Regions from separate parts of the Homo sapiens genome. Here region 2 is linked to region 1. Evidence: promoter capture Hi-C in 16 types of primary human blood cells and fetal thymus (Javierre and others, 2016). All regions are on one chromosome and are shown on one strand. The core of a region is centred on a gene start or on the middle of the fragment in contact, and the rest is flanking DNA. Distances in the headings are between cores, read along the strand shown. Region 1 holds the start of TBL1XR1 (TBL1X/Y related 1). Region 2 overlaps LOC105374235 (a long non-coding RNA gene).

The links. Contacts are between HindIII fragments. The CHiCAGO score rates a contact against its expected background, and 5 or more counts as called.
Region 2: a contact is called between a fragment that was not itself captured here and the fragment with the promoter of TBL1XR1 in region 1, in 1 of 17 cell types (erythroblasts). The highest score is 8.1, in erythroblasts.

What each region holds. Positions count from the first base shown.
Region 1 is chr3:177,193,769-177,199,805 of GRCh38, forward strand. It overlaps TBL1XR1 (TBL1X/Y related 1), which reads right to left and starts at 3,714. Exons shown (of 16, transcript NM_024665.7): 1 at 3,353-3,714. RefSeq lists enhancers at 1-522, 3,291-3,800, 3,801-4,308 and silencers at 2,756-2,805, 3,286-3,385, 3,496-3,685, 3,926-4,305. The HindIII fragment of the contact is 6,955 bases long and covers 2,020-6,037 here.
Region 2 is chr3:178,259,196-178,265,232 of GRCh38, forward strand. All of the region lies in intron 2 of LOC105374235 (a long non-coding RNA gene), which reads right to left. Among named protein-coding and RNA genes, the nearest start is that of LINC01014, 160 kb to the right of the region's middle. The HindIII fragment of the contact is 1,151 bases long and covers 3,151-4,301 here.

The sequences.
Region 1 (6,037 bases), core at 2,464-4,963:
CGGATCAAGACTAACAAAACAGCTGGGAAAATTCCGCAGATTCAGTCATCTAAGACAGACCCAGGTTTGAATCCTAGTGTTCATTTAATAATTTTGTGGCCTTGAACAAGGGAATTAACTTCTTTGCATCTCTGTTTCATCATCCACAAAAAAAGCCCAACACTATCTACCTCATAGGATTAGCCTAGGGTATAAACAGCATAGAAAGCACCTCACACCTCCTAGAGCATAGCCCGGAGCACCTAGTCCCTCTCCTCTGGCTCTATGGTTACAGGGCAATTAATTGCACTCTTACCGAATCCAATCCCAGAGGGGTAAACAGCCAAATCTCTCCAGCATCAGCGCTCTCAGAGTCTTTTCTTTTTAACTTCAAGTTTCTATTGGTGGCAGAGCAGGAGATACCACCTTCGTGGTACCTAAACTGAACGATACTCAACAATTCTTTACTACACAGCTCTAGGGTCCTAGCCCTCCTCTACTACCAGAATGTCTGAGCATAAAGTATAAATGTCTCGTGTTAGCTGCTTTCCTTTTTTGCATTTCAGTGACTTATACTGTAAATGTTATTTGTGAAATGAGTCCAATTCACATGCACTAGAAAAATACAAGTTCTAGTGAATACCAATGTTTCTGCCATGCCTCTCCCCTGACTTCCTACCATTCACATTCTTCTTTATTCTTTTTATATAAATGACACCAAAAATTGAACAAACCCAACAAATTATTTCAACCAACTTCATCAAAATGTGTCAAGTCAGGAATTCTTTATAATAGTACTGCTACAAGTTGTACTAGGGAGATTCCTTTGTCAGCTACTCGTCTGACAAGGTTGTATATATACTGCACTGATAGATTTAATCAACAAGTTGATGTTCAAAAGGTCTATTAATACATTTCCTTTTATCAGTACCCCTTATATTTATATTACCTTCTGTTAGCTTGAAAGGCTCCTAGAACACAGGAAGCAGTTACCTCTAATTCTTTCGGGAGACTGGTGTCATGGTAATCATGCAAAACCTTTAATTAGGTGTCGAGAATACAAATATCAAAAAGATTCTTAGACATACGTATTAAAATGCTTAACACTTCTTTGAAGCAACCAATGCAAAAATATCATCTCTGCAAGGGGTCACTCCATTTACCACCAGTGTCTCCCACATTAATACCCAAAGCTGGTATACGTTAAAAGAAAAATGTCATAAACTGACGGTGAGCTTTGCAACAATTTTTATGCCATTAACATGTCACTTTATTAAGTTCCTTAGCAATAAGAAAAACTTTTCCCAGGCACGTAGTTTTCGTCCCCCATACAGTTTAGTATTTTGTCCTGTAGGTCGGATTCCAACAACTCAAACGTCAAAAAAAATAGTAGTTATTTATGAATTTAATGATTGCGATTACATACATCTCAGTGCAGGATAGGGTTGAAAAAAAAAATCATATTCCAAACAAGAAAACCTGGATTTAAGAGCAAGAAGCCTAATCACACATCACACGCCTAACTGCTCTCAGGCATACTTTCTTCCTGCAGCCCCTCCCCCACAGGTAAATGCTAACTATTTCTAGAACTCTCAACTATTTGGGAAGCTTGCCATCAACTCCCATGATACCACCCAACCCACACCATGTTTTCGGGGAGACAAAGGTGCCCTACTTCCCCAGACTATAAACTATTAAAATGGTGAGAACATACAATCCCAGGAAGTCGGCATTACTAAAATACATCAATGTAGCATGGGTCTTATTTTAACAAAAATGAAAATGAATCACACTGGAAAACCCAAACAGTCACTCATTGTATCTTCAACGTGTAATCGAAATTATTTATTCCAAGTTATTTCAGGTAAGTAGATGAACACACCACGAGGGCCTTATTATCCAAACTGGTGAAGAAGCCTTTAGGAAAAACGGAGGGGGAAGATCACTTAATTATATGAGGTGGGGGGTAGAGCAACCATTCAGTCTTAAAATTCAAACTAAAAATAACCTGGCATTTTCACCCCCCACATTTTATTAACAAGCTTGTTTAGATCAGCATACGGTTCCTGTTTGGAAAACAAGAAAGTGAATAGTAAACTTTCCTAAGTCAACTGTAAATCACATAGGTACTAAAACTCTTCACCCCTGGTGCCTGCACAGTCCAAGATTTCAAGTAAACTCCAGACACTGAGAACACCTAATTTTTAACTAGTTTCCAACATTTCTCATTTGTAATCACCAAATTATCTTAGAGACACTTAGATAACCTAACAAAGAGAGCATTTTTTAAAAGCCACAACCCAAATTTTACATGAAATACACCATTTTCACAACCTAAATTTAATCCCGGTTGCCACTGCGAAGTGATGCCTGTTTCAGCAAATTAAGAACTTCCAAAAATACTGAACACGTTAACACATGCATGGCTTCCCTCGAGCTGCCATTTAAGATTAATATTCCACTTAAATAAAAGTCTGCTTCTGTTCAAAAAATTAAATCGGTTGCAAAGAGGAAGTTACCGAGAAACCACCCTCACAACGTGGCCTTTACACTGTCAGAAAATAACGTGACTCTGTGCCACCCAAAACTTACCAGGAAGCTGGCAATAACTTTGCCAATTCTACACTCCTGAACCCAACTTCAAAGAGCCTCCACCAAATACCTCCTTAAGACGATAAAAAGCACTAAGTTACAAATAAACACGTCCCGGAGCAAGGCCCGGCTGCCGCGCGCCCCTCCCCCGGCCGGCGCCCCCGCCCCGGACGCGCGGCCCCAACAGCCGCCCGCAGCCCCCAGCACGCCGGCCGGGGTCGCCGCGCCCGGGCCGGGGACGCGCCCGGGGAGGGGAGATTTCCATTGCCGCCCGAGGTTTCACAAAATAGCATGCACCGAAAAGCTCCTTCTCCTCTGCTAAAAATAGGCTATAAAGGAGTCGGCCTCATGATGGCTCCTTGATTCAATTTGCTGCAAATCCTTTCCTGAAAGCCTCCCCCCCCAAACACACACGCACAAAAAGGGGGTGTAAATGCACGAAGGGAGGAAGAGGGGGAGAAGGCCGAGGTGCACATTTTCGGGGACAACATAATTAGGGTGAGGATCCCCCGAGACCGGGAAAGGGTAGGGGGGTGGGCAGGCACGTGAGCATTTCAAAGAAACCTGAGAGAGGAAAACGGGGGGATGGGGGCGCCCCAAGTGCCCTCCCTGCCTTCCCTTCCCCCACGCAAGCCCAGTTCCCCCAAGGGCCAAGTTGAAAAATGCATGTTCCACTCGCGCCCATCCCCCCGCGGCCCAGCGCCCCCGGCCGCCTCTGGCCCGCGCCCCCCGCCCAGGCCCCCGGCCGCCCCCACTCCAGGGTCCGGCCCCCAGCGCTTACCTGGAAACGGTGGCCTCCAACGCCGCTCCCCCCTCCCGGGAATGGAGGCACAAGGAAATTCCCCTCCTCGCCGCCGCCGCCACCGCCTCCAACCACCCCCAAAATAACCCCTCCGGGGGGTGAGAGGCAATTATAACCCCAGCGAGCGGAGGGCGCGGGGGATGGGCGCCGGGCGGGCGGGGGCGGGGAGCGCGGCGCGGGTCCCCAGGTGGCGAGCGGAGGTGCTCCCGCCGCGGGGGGAGGGGCGGGGGCGCACGCGGCCGGCGGCGGGGGGAGGCGGCGCGCGGGGGAAGGGCGCGAGCGGGGAGAGGAATTGAGGCAGAAGGTAAAAGCTGTTACTAAGGGAAAGAGCCAAACGGTTCGGAGCAGCCAACGGCTCAGACACTCAACACTGGGGAGAGAGGAATGGGGACCAGCCAGGCACAAATGAGCTCGCGAGGCCCGCGGCGGCGGCGGCGGCGGCGGCCGCGCAGCAAAACAAACCCGAGCGGCCTGCGCCGGGCGGGCGGGCGAGCGGGCGGGCGGGCGCGCGGGGGAGGGGCCGGCGGGGGAGGGGCGCCGCGGACGCCGGGAGGCGGCGGCGGCGCGGCGGGGGGGCTCCAGCGGCCGCGCTCCTCTCCTTCCCGGCCCGCTCTGGCGGCACTGGGGGCTGGGCTGTGCGGCGCATTCTTTTAAAAATCAGGCGAGCCCCGCGGGCACTCGAAGGCGCCTCGGGGCCCCGGGCCGCCCGCCCCGCCCCCACCGCCGCGGGCCGGCCTGGGTGTGCTCGGGTGTGGGCCGCTGGGCCCGAGACGGGTGGGGGCGGGGAGGCCCGCGCGGTGGCCGGGGTGGAGCCGCCGGCGAAGTTTCCCCAAGGACGCCGCGGGCTCCCGCGTGTCCGGGGGGCGGCCCGGCGGCGTTGGGGGCTGGGCGCACACGCGGCGGGCATGTGGGGGAGTGCGGCGCGGCATCATATGGACATTTGTTTGTGAAAATCTCTGTGAACACCTTTGTGTGCGTAAATACATATGGTTCTCCGAAGCGTACCTGGAAAGGTGCTTTATCTGTAATAAGCGACTTTCAAAATGTGATCCAGAGCACGGGATCTGGAGAGAAAACACGCACACAAGAAAAGGTTTTTGATACTAAACACAAAGCTGTAATTGAAGTATTTATGCCCAAATGTACTGTGAATCAAGCATATGGTGGTATTTATCATCTGGTGGGTCTGTTTGAAAGGTTTGCTCGATCAGTTCTTATTTCACAAAAATAAAATAATGTAACTAAATGTTTACTAAATATATACCTGCACAGTGGCATCCACAGTAGAAGTTTATCCACTTTGTGTACTTTTTGCATGTGTGAAGCACAGCAAGGCGGTTTATAAAGTATAACTTAGATGAGTGATAATGTGGCAGTATGGTTGAGGGAGGGTTGTTTTTAAAGAAGGGAGGCACCTCACAGGTTTTAAAGCAAATGGGGTGGTAATCTTTCTAAGACTTTCAGAAAGATGGGGTAGGGTGCTTTTTAGAGCTTTGTATAAGCTCAGGACTGGAGAAGCAGCCACCCTTTTACATTAAGATACGACTTGAAACCTTTTTGTTATTTCGCTTATTACTGCCTTCAAAGCAAAATAATGTTTGCAGCTTTCTTAAAGGTGAAGGGTTCTGTTTTCCTACTTTCATCAGAATATTTGAAAATAGATGTAGTGATCACTTTAAAGCAACCATCATTTCCTCTCAATATCAGAAACCTGAAGTTTTGCGACACACACACACACACACACACACACACACACACACACACACTACTCGTAACTTGCACCAGTCTGGACTCCTGGTGGCCTAATAAGTTCAGTAATTAGACAGGTGCTTTCTTGGCCAAGGTCAATGTCTCTTTCCCCCCTGAGCCCTTGCTTGGGGGAGCTGCCAGAGGCCTTTCCTGAATGACCTAGTGGGGCAGGGAGCAGGAAAACCATCAGAGGAAAGGGAGTGGGATTGGAAACTCCCTTCCAACCACCAGAGAGTTCAAAGCATATTAGTGGTGTGTCCTTAGAGCTATTTTCATGTATGAAAGTGGGAATGTTGGATTAAACAATGTCACCCGATGGGAATTTAGATAACTGCAGGTTTCCAAAACACTATGCAGAGTGTACAGGGAAACCGCACAAAGCAAGTTTTGCATTTCAATAGGATTCTAAAGCTGAGGCTTGTTTACCTCAGAACTAACACCTTTCAGAAGACTTTATTTCAGAATTGAAAAGAGTATATAGTATCTTCCTTTTTTTTTTTTTGAGTTGATAAATGACGTAGATATCACTAAACATACCCTGTCTTCAGTAAGTAAACTATCTCGGTGGAGCCACTCAATGAAACATATCTATTGGCTTAGATTATTTTTTAAGTTTCATATTGTGCCACCACGGGCGGGTCCTCTCCATACAGCAGTGACTGTAAAATCAAACCCCACTTTCAGTGAGTGAGGACTTCTCAACCATACCATTCTTAAAGCGTCATATTCAAAGCTGCCCACCCCACCCCTTCTCCTTCCCCTAAATGACTTCTATCCCTTATTCCACAAGGGAGGAGACACCCTCCTTCAGGTTCATAGGATCAGGTCTTCCAGCCTGAAGTTCTTATACCCTACACCAAGCTGCCTCCTAAAGTTGTTCAGTGTTAGTTGAGCCTCCTCACAATGATAATAATC
Region 2 (6,037 bases), core at 2,476-4,975, 1.1 Mb after region 1:
AAAGATAGGTCATGTGCTGGGTCATAAAACAAATCTCAAGAGAGTATTCTCTCCAACCACAATAAAAGCAAACTAGAAATCAATAGTATAAATATAACAGGAAAAACAGAAAGGGCTATCCATAAGGAAATGAAAAATTTTAGTGGAGTGTTTACACCATGCAGCATTAACTATATAATAGTTAAAATAATTATGGTATGGATAAATCACAGAAATATAAGGTGAAATAAAAATTTTAAAACAAAGTTGCAAAACAAAAACAGGAAAACAGGATATTTATGTAAATATTACTAAACGCATGTACAAAAATATGTTTTAATTGGTTATGGATTAAAAATATAACAATGGACTGGAACACAATATACTATACTAATAATCATGGTCTCCGTGAAAGGAAGAACAATGGATATTGCAAAAGAATATAAGATGTATCTGTATTTGTTTAAATGATATGTATGTATGTATGTCTAGATACCATGTAAATTTTAAAATTCTAACTAATATTAACAACTTGAAAGGACTTACATCTATCTATATGATTTAGTGCTTAAAAAATTGGATGCTATGCAGAATAATGTTAACAGAATTTGCTATAGTCTTCTTATAAGTCCATACAAATGCTTAATGTGTTGTGGTTTTGTCTTTGTTGTCAGTGTAACCTAGGTTCAAATTACTAGTCCACTACTAGGAAGTTGCATGACTCTAGACAACTTGCTCAAATTCTGTCCTGAATTCCTATGTCCTTATCTTGTGCTAACCCATATATATGTTTTTAGGATTCAATGCAGCAATAAATAAAAGACAAATAATGTATTGAGTTAGCTGGCACTTACTGAGCATCTAATAAGATGTAGTTACTTTAGTAAAACCTTAGTGCATTCATGACTAAGTTTACTTTTCTTGCAGAAAATGGGTAGAGTTAAATAAGACTTATTAAATGATCATTTTGAAAATTTATTTACTTATATATTCATTTCTGTCAATGATTTTCACAGCTTGGAACATTAAGAAACAGTAGCAATTTGTAGAAAGATCATCTGGGATGCACTGAACTAAATGATACTCTTTCTTAAAATGCACTTCTCACCCACATAGAAATGGTAGCCATGTATAATGATATGAACGAATCTCAATATTCTTATGTTGTTCTGAAAGGAACTAGACACAAAAGAGTACATAATATATTACTTCATTGATATGAATGTATAAAAAAGAAAAATCTATTATGACAGAAAGCACATCAATGGATACTTAGGACCAGAAGTGCATGGAAAATTAAATAAGGGCACAAGGAACTTTTTAGGATGATAGAAATGTTCTATATATTGATTAATTCACAATTATATTGCTGAAGATTTAAGGTGTATAAATACGCCAAAAGTCATCAAATGTGCACATAAAATGGGTGCATTTTAATGTGCAAATTATACCTCAATAAAATTGTTCTTTTTCAAAAGTGAAAAAAAAAAAGAATTATACACTAGGACCAAGTGGGATTTATACCAGGCATTTAATGTCAGTTTAACATCCAAAAACTAATTAATGTAATACCATATTAATAGAATAAAGAACAAAAAACCACATGATCATTTAAAAAAAAAAAAGAAATGGTAGCCATGTGAAACAAAAAGCCTTCCTCTAAAAAAGGAAAATACTCCAAAAAACACTTAGTGTAAAGCCTCTTTCATGGGTCCATTCCTTTGATCTTGCTTTTAAAAAACATTAACTACACTTTGTTTCTTAGGCTGCTTACTTTCAAATAAACTAGCAGGTGCCCTTTTCCACCCCTGTTCCTGGCGAGACTCTGCTTTCACAGAAGTCTGGTATCTGGAAGCCTCCTTATCAGTGTCATACATAGTAAACATCTGAAATTTATTATCACTGTCTCCAGGCTGAGGAAAACATGCTCAACAGTCACAACTAAGAAGTTTAAAGTTTTACAAAGTTTTTTAAAGTTACAGGCAACCACGTTTTGACTTGTTCCTAAAACAAAAAGTAACAGCAACCCACACGTCCTTTCCTATATTCTGGCAAGAATAGCAGAAACAAAATGTCATGCACTTAAACATATGTTGAAGATTAGAATGTAAATAGGAAAAGTGCAAAAATTTTTATAGCTTTTCAAACTATAGGAGATAAGTAATATCTTTGTAATGTGAAGAAAGCCATTTTCATTATCACGGGGCCTTGACAAGTAGCTTCCCACACAGCTTGTCAAGTCAAATGCTACTAATACTGCCAGAATACTGATTTTGTTCATGCTTTTGTTATGTCTGAAGGGAGGATTTTATGCATTTAGCTCAATGAATGCACTGACAAACTGATAGGTCTTCCAAGTCACTGTTGATAAAGAAACAAAAAAAGTTTGATAAATGGATTCTCTGCCTTCTGCTTCTATGCTGCCTTATGAATACTTATTTTCTACCATGATAAGAATTATTGTCATCTATATGTCCTTCCTCACAATGCTGCACACCTTTCTACTCTCACCAAAACAGAACTTTGTTTCAGTTTGTCCTACAAAGGGTAACTTTTTTACATACCTGATGCCTCCTCAGGCTTGGTCCCTTGTGCTCCTAAAAACCAATTTTAACGATGAAACAGGAACGGAAATGACAGTCTACATTTGAGGAATATTTCATCATTTACAAACTGCTTTCATGTGCAGTATCCAATTTCATCCTTCTTACAACTGTGAATTAAGGGATATTTTCTAATTTAGCAGACAAGGAAACTGAGGGAGTAGAAGCATTGAACCATTTGTCCAAGATCACATAATATCTAGTTCACTGTCTTCTGTTTGTTTCCTTGTTTGGGGCTTTTTTTTGTTTTTATTTTTTATTTTAATTGACAAATCATAATTGTATATATGTATGGAGCATGACGTGAGGTTAGACATAAGTATACATTATACACTGATTGAATCAAGTTCATTAATATACCCGTCACCTCACATACTTATTTTTTTGTGTGCTCTGCTTGCTTTCTTGTTTTTAATTGAGAGTGGCATGCCTGCAGTGGAGACCTAAAATCTTTGTAGTTACAGCCAAGCCATCCTGTTGTCCCATAGACTCTTCCTTGGTTTTCTTAATCTAGTATTTTCTATTTATCAGTTGCTGAACTTTACGGCCCGTGTCTCCCGTCATTACAAGCTTGGTCTATGTAATAATTCCTGCACACAAGAGTCCCTGGTTACATGTTTGTTGAAAGAACAAATGGATGAATTAATATAGATATAAAACTAGTAGCTTATGTGTTTATTCTTAAGGCTGCTTAAGGATCAGTTGCTTTTAATCTGACTCAGTAATTACCTTTTTTGTCCTGAAGAGGTTGTTACAGGAGTCTATGCAATTATATTGTGAATGGTTACATGATAACATAAAATATTACCAAATAAAACATTACTACTTTATGTGGTAAAATCTTCTCTCTCTGCCTTGCCAAAATCATAGTTTGGAGTAAAAAGGTGCTTGAAATTCTTATGTATTTTGTACCACACAAGTTAAATAGAATGTAAATCATGCAAATGCACAGACATGCATGCAACTTTGACTATCCTATGTATTTTTCCATTTTCCCTTCTGAAATTGTTTCTGTCAATATTTTGATTTAGATCCCACCAAAAGGAGAGAAAGAGAAAGATTTAATCAGAATATTGTCAAACACCTAAGAATTAGTGGATAATATGGTATTTGAAGTCTGATACATAACATTCTTAGGAGATACAGCTCTTGTAGGCATTATTATTAAATCATTTCTAGAAAAATTATTTACTTACAGGAATTCCAGATACAGCTTTATACTTTTAGCAATTATCTATTCAAGTCTTATGTATGTGTTTACACTGTAGTGTGTGTGAAATATATATATATATATGTATATAAAAAACTGGCATTTCCCAAATACCACAGTCTATGGCCTATGTACATCAGAATAATATGGAGAGCTATTTCATTTTTAAAAAGTAAACACTGAATTCTACACGTACAATTATTGGCATTACAGACACATGAATGAACTGAATTCTAGAAATAATAAAAAGCTCAGGATTATTTCAAGCTATACATAGGCATGAAGTTTAGATGTTCGCCTGAGTTAGTGTGTAACTTCCGTATTAAGTATTGCAAAATGCTGAAGGTCAGTCAGTTGTCTTATCTACAGGAAGAAGGATATGGTTCTTTCTGCACTTAACTATACTTAGGGTAGTTTCTTCTGATTATTAAAGCCTATTCTTGAAGGCTGGGCCTTTTAACTGTGAGTTATTTAAGGGATTACACAGCCTGGTTTCAAATTGCCTTACAAGCTTCATCTTCCTCTATTCTACAAATGAACACTGAGCTCCAACTAGACCAAATACAAACCATTAGTCTGTCATCACATGGTTGTCAAGTTCTATTGTTTTTGTTGTATGTATCATTTCCCTTGATATGTGTATCTGAAGTTATATGTTTTTTTTTTTCCACCACAAGATTCTAGAAGGGCAAATCTTGGATCTTTTATTTTCAGCTCCTTCCCTCCAAAACCTAACCATCTCTCTGCAGCTTAGACTAGTTGTTTTACATTATAGTAACAGCTTAATAGTTTAGTAAAAGCTCCATACATTTGTGATATATGAATAAACAATTAGCATGAACTATATTCATTTGACCAGAAATTAATAAAACCTGTTATTAGTTAATTTTTGATAACTGTGAAACAGAATGTGTCAGGACATGGTAATTGACATCATGTTTCATACGAAGCAGGAAATTGATTAGATGTTTGAGTTTTCATTCAGTTTTAATCTGCCTTTGTTTATAGTGATGAGATTCCAGAAGTCAAATTATTTCTTTTCTGTTTGTCTTCTCTATGCTGTCTCATAGTGGTGGGAGGAGAGAGCAATGTAATTCTTATTCCCCAAAAAGGAAGTTTTGATTTCAGAGAAAAGGGGGCTACCTGGTAAAAAGCATTTCTGCCTCTCATCCATGCACTGAGAATGAGAAAGTAATTCAGGAAATTTCTGCCTCTCATCCGTACACTGAGAATGATAAACTAATTCAATAATTCAGGAAAGGTATTCAGATGTAAAGTAATTGTAGTGAGGCATTTTCCATGAACATCAATTAGAAATTTGAAATTAAAATTGTAAGTAAAAATAGTTCATTAGTACTTTAAAGGGAAAAAAAGAAAAGAATACTAGTTGTGTTTTACTTTGTGCAATACTATTATATGAAAATCCAAACTGCAAAACAATGTAGAGATTTTATTTGCATTGAGAAATATTACTTTATAAATATCACAGCCAGGCGTGGTGGCTCATGCCTGTAATGCCAGCACTTTGGGAGGCAGAGGTGGGCGGATCACCTAAGGTCAAGGGTTCGAGACGAGCCTGGCCAACACAGTGAAACCCCATCTCTACTAAAAGTAGAAAAATTAGCCGGGTGTGGTGGCACACACCTGTAATCCCAGCTATTTGGGAGGCTGAGGTAGGAGAATCACTTGAACCTGGGAGGCGGAGTTTGCAGTGAGCCGAGATCATGCCACTGCACTCCAGCCTGGGCAACAAAGTGAGACTCTGTCTCAATAAATAAATAAATAAATAAATAAATAAAATAAAATAAATTCACTATGGGGTACTGAGCTCAAATATTTTTATAAGTCAGATTGAATAATCAATCAACAAATATTTCTTGAGCATTTACTGTAAGTAATTAATAAATGAACTGCAGGAAGCACGTGCACAAGTGCACCACACCAAAAATTATATTTTAAGCATCACAAATCAGCTGTTTTCTTTTTTATTTTTAATAGTTAATAAGCTTTATTAATATGCTTTTTAAATTTTATTTTTATTCTAAAACAAAAATGGGATACATGTGCAGAATGTGCAGGTTTGTTACATAGGTATACACGTGCCATGGTGGCTTGCTGTACCTATTGACCCGTCCTCTAGTTCCCTCCCCTCACCCCTGCCCCCCAACAGGCCCTGGTGTGTGCTGTTCCCCTCTCTGTGTCCATGTGTTCTCAATGTTAAACTCTCACTTATGATTGAGAACAT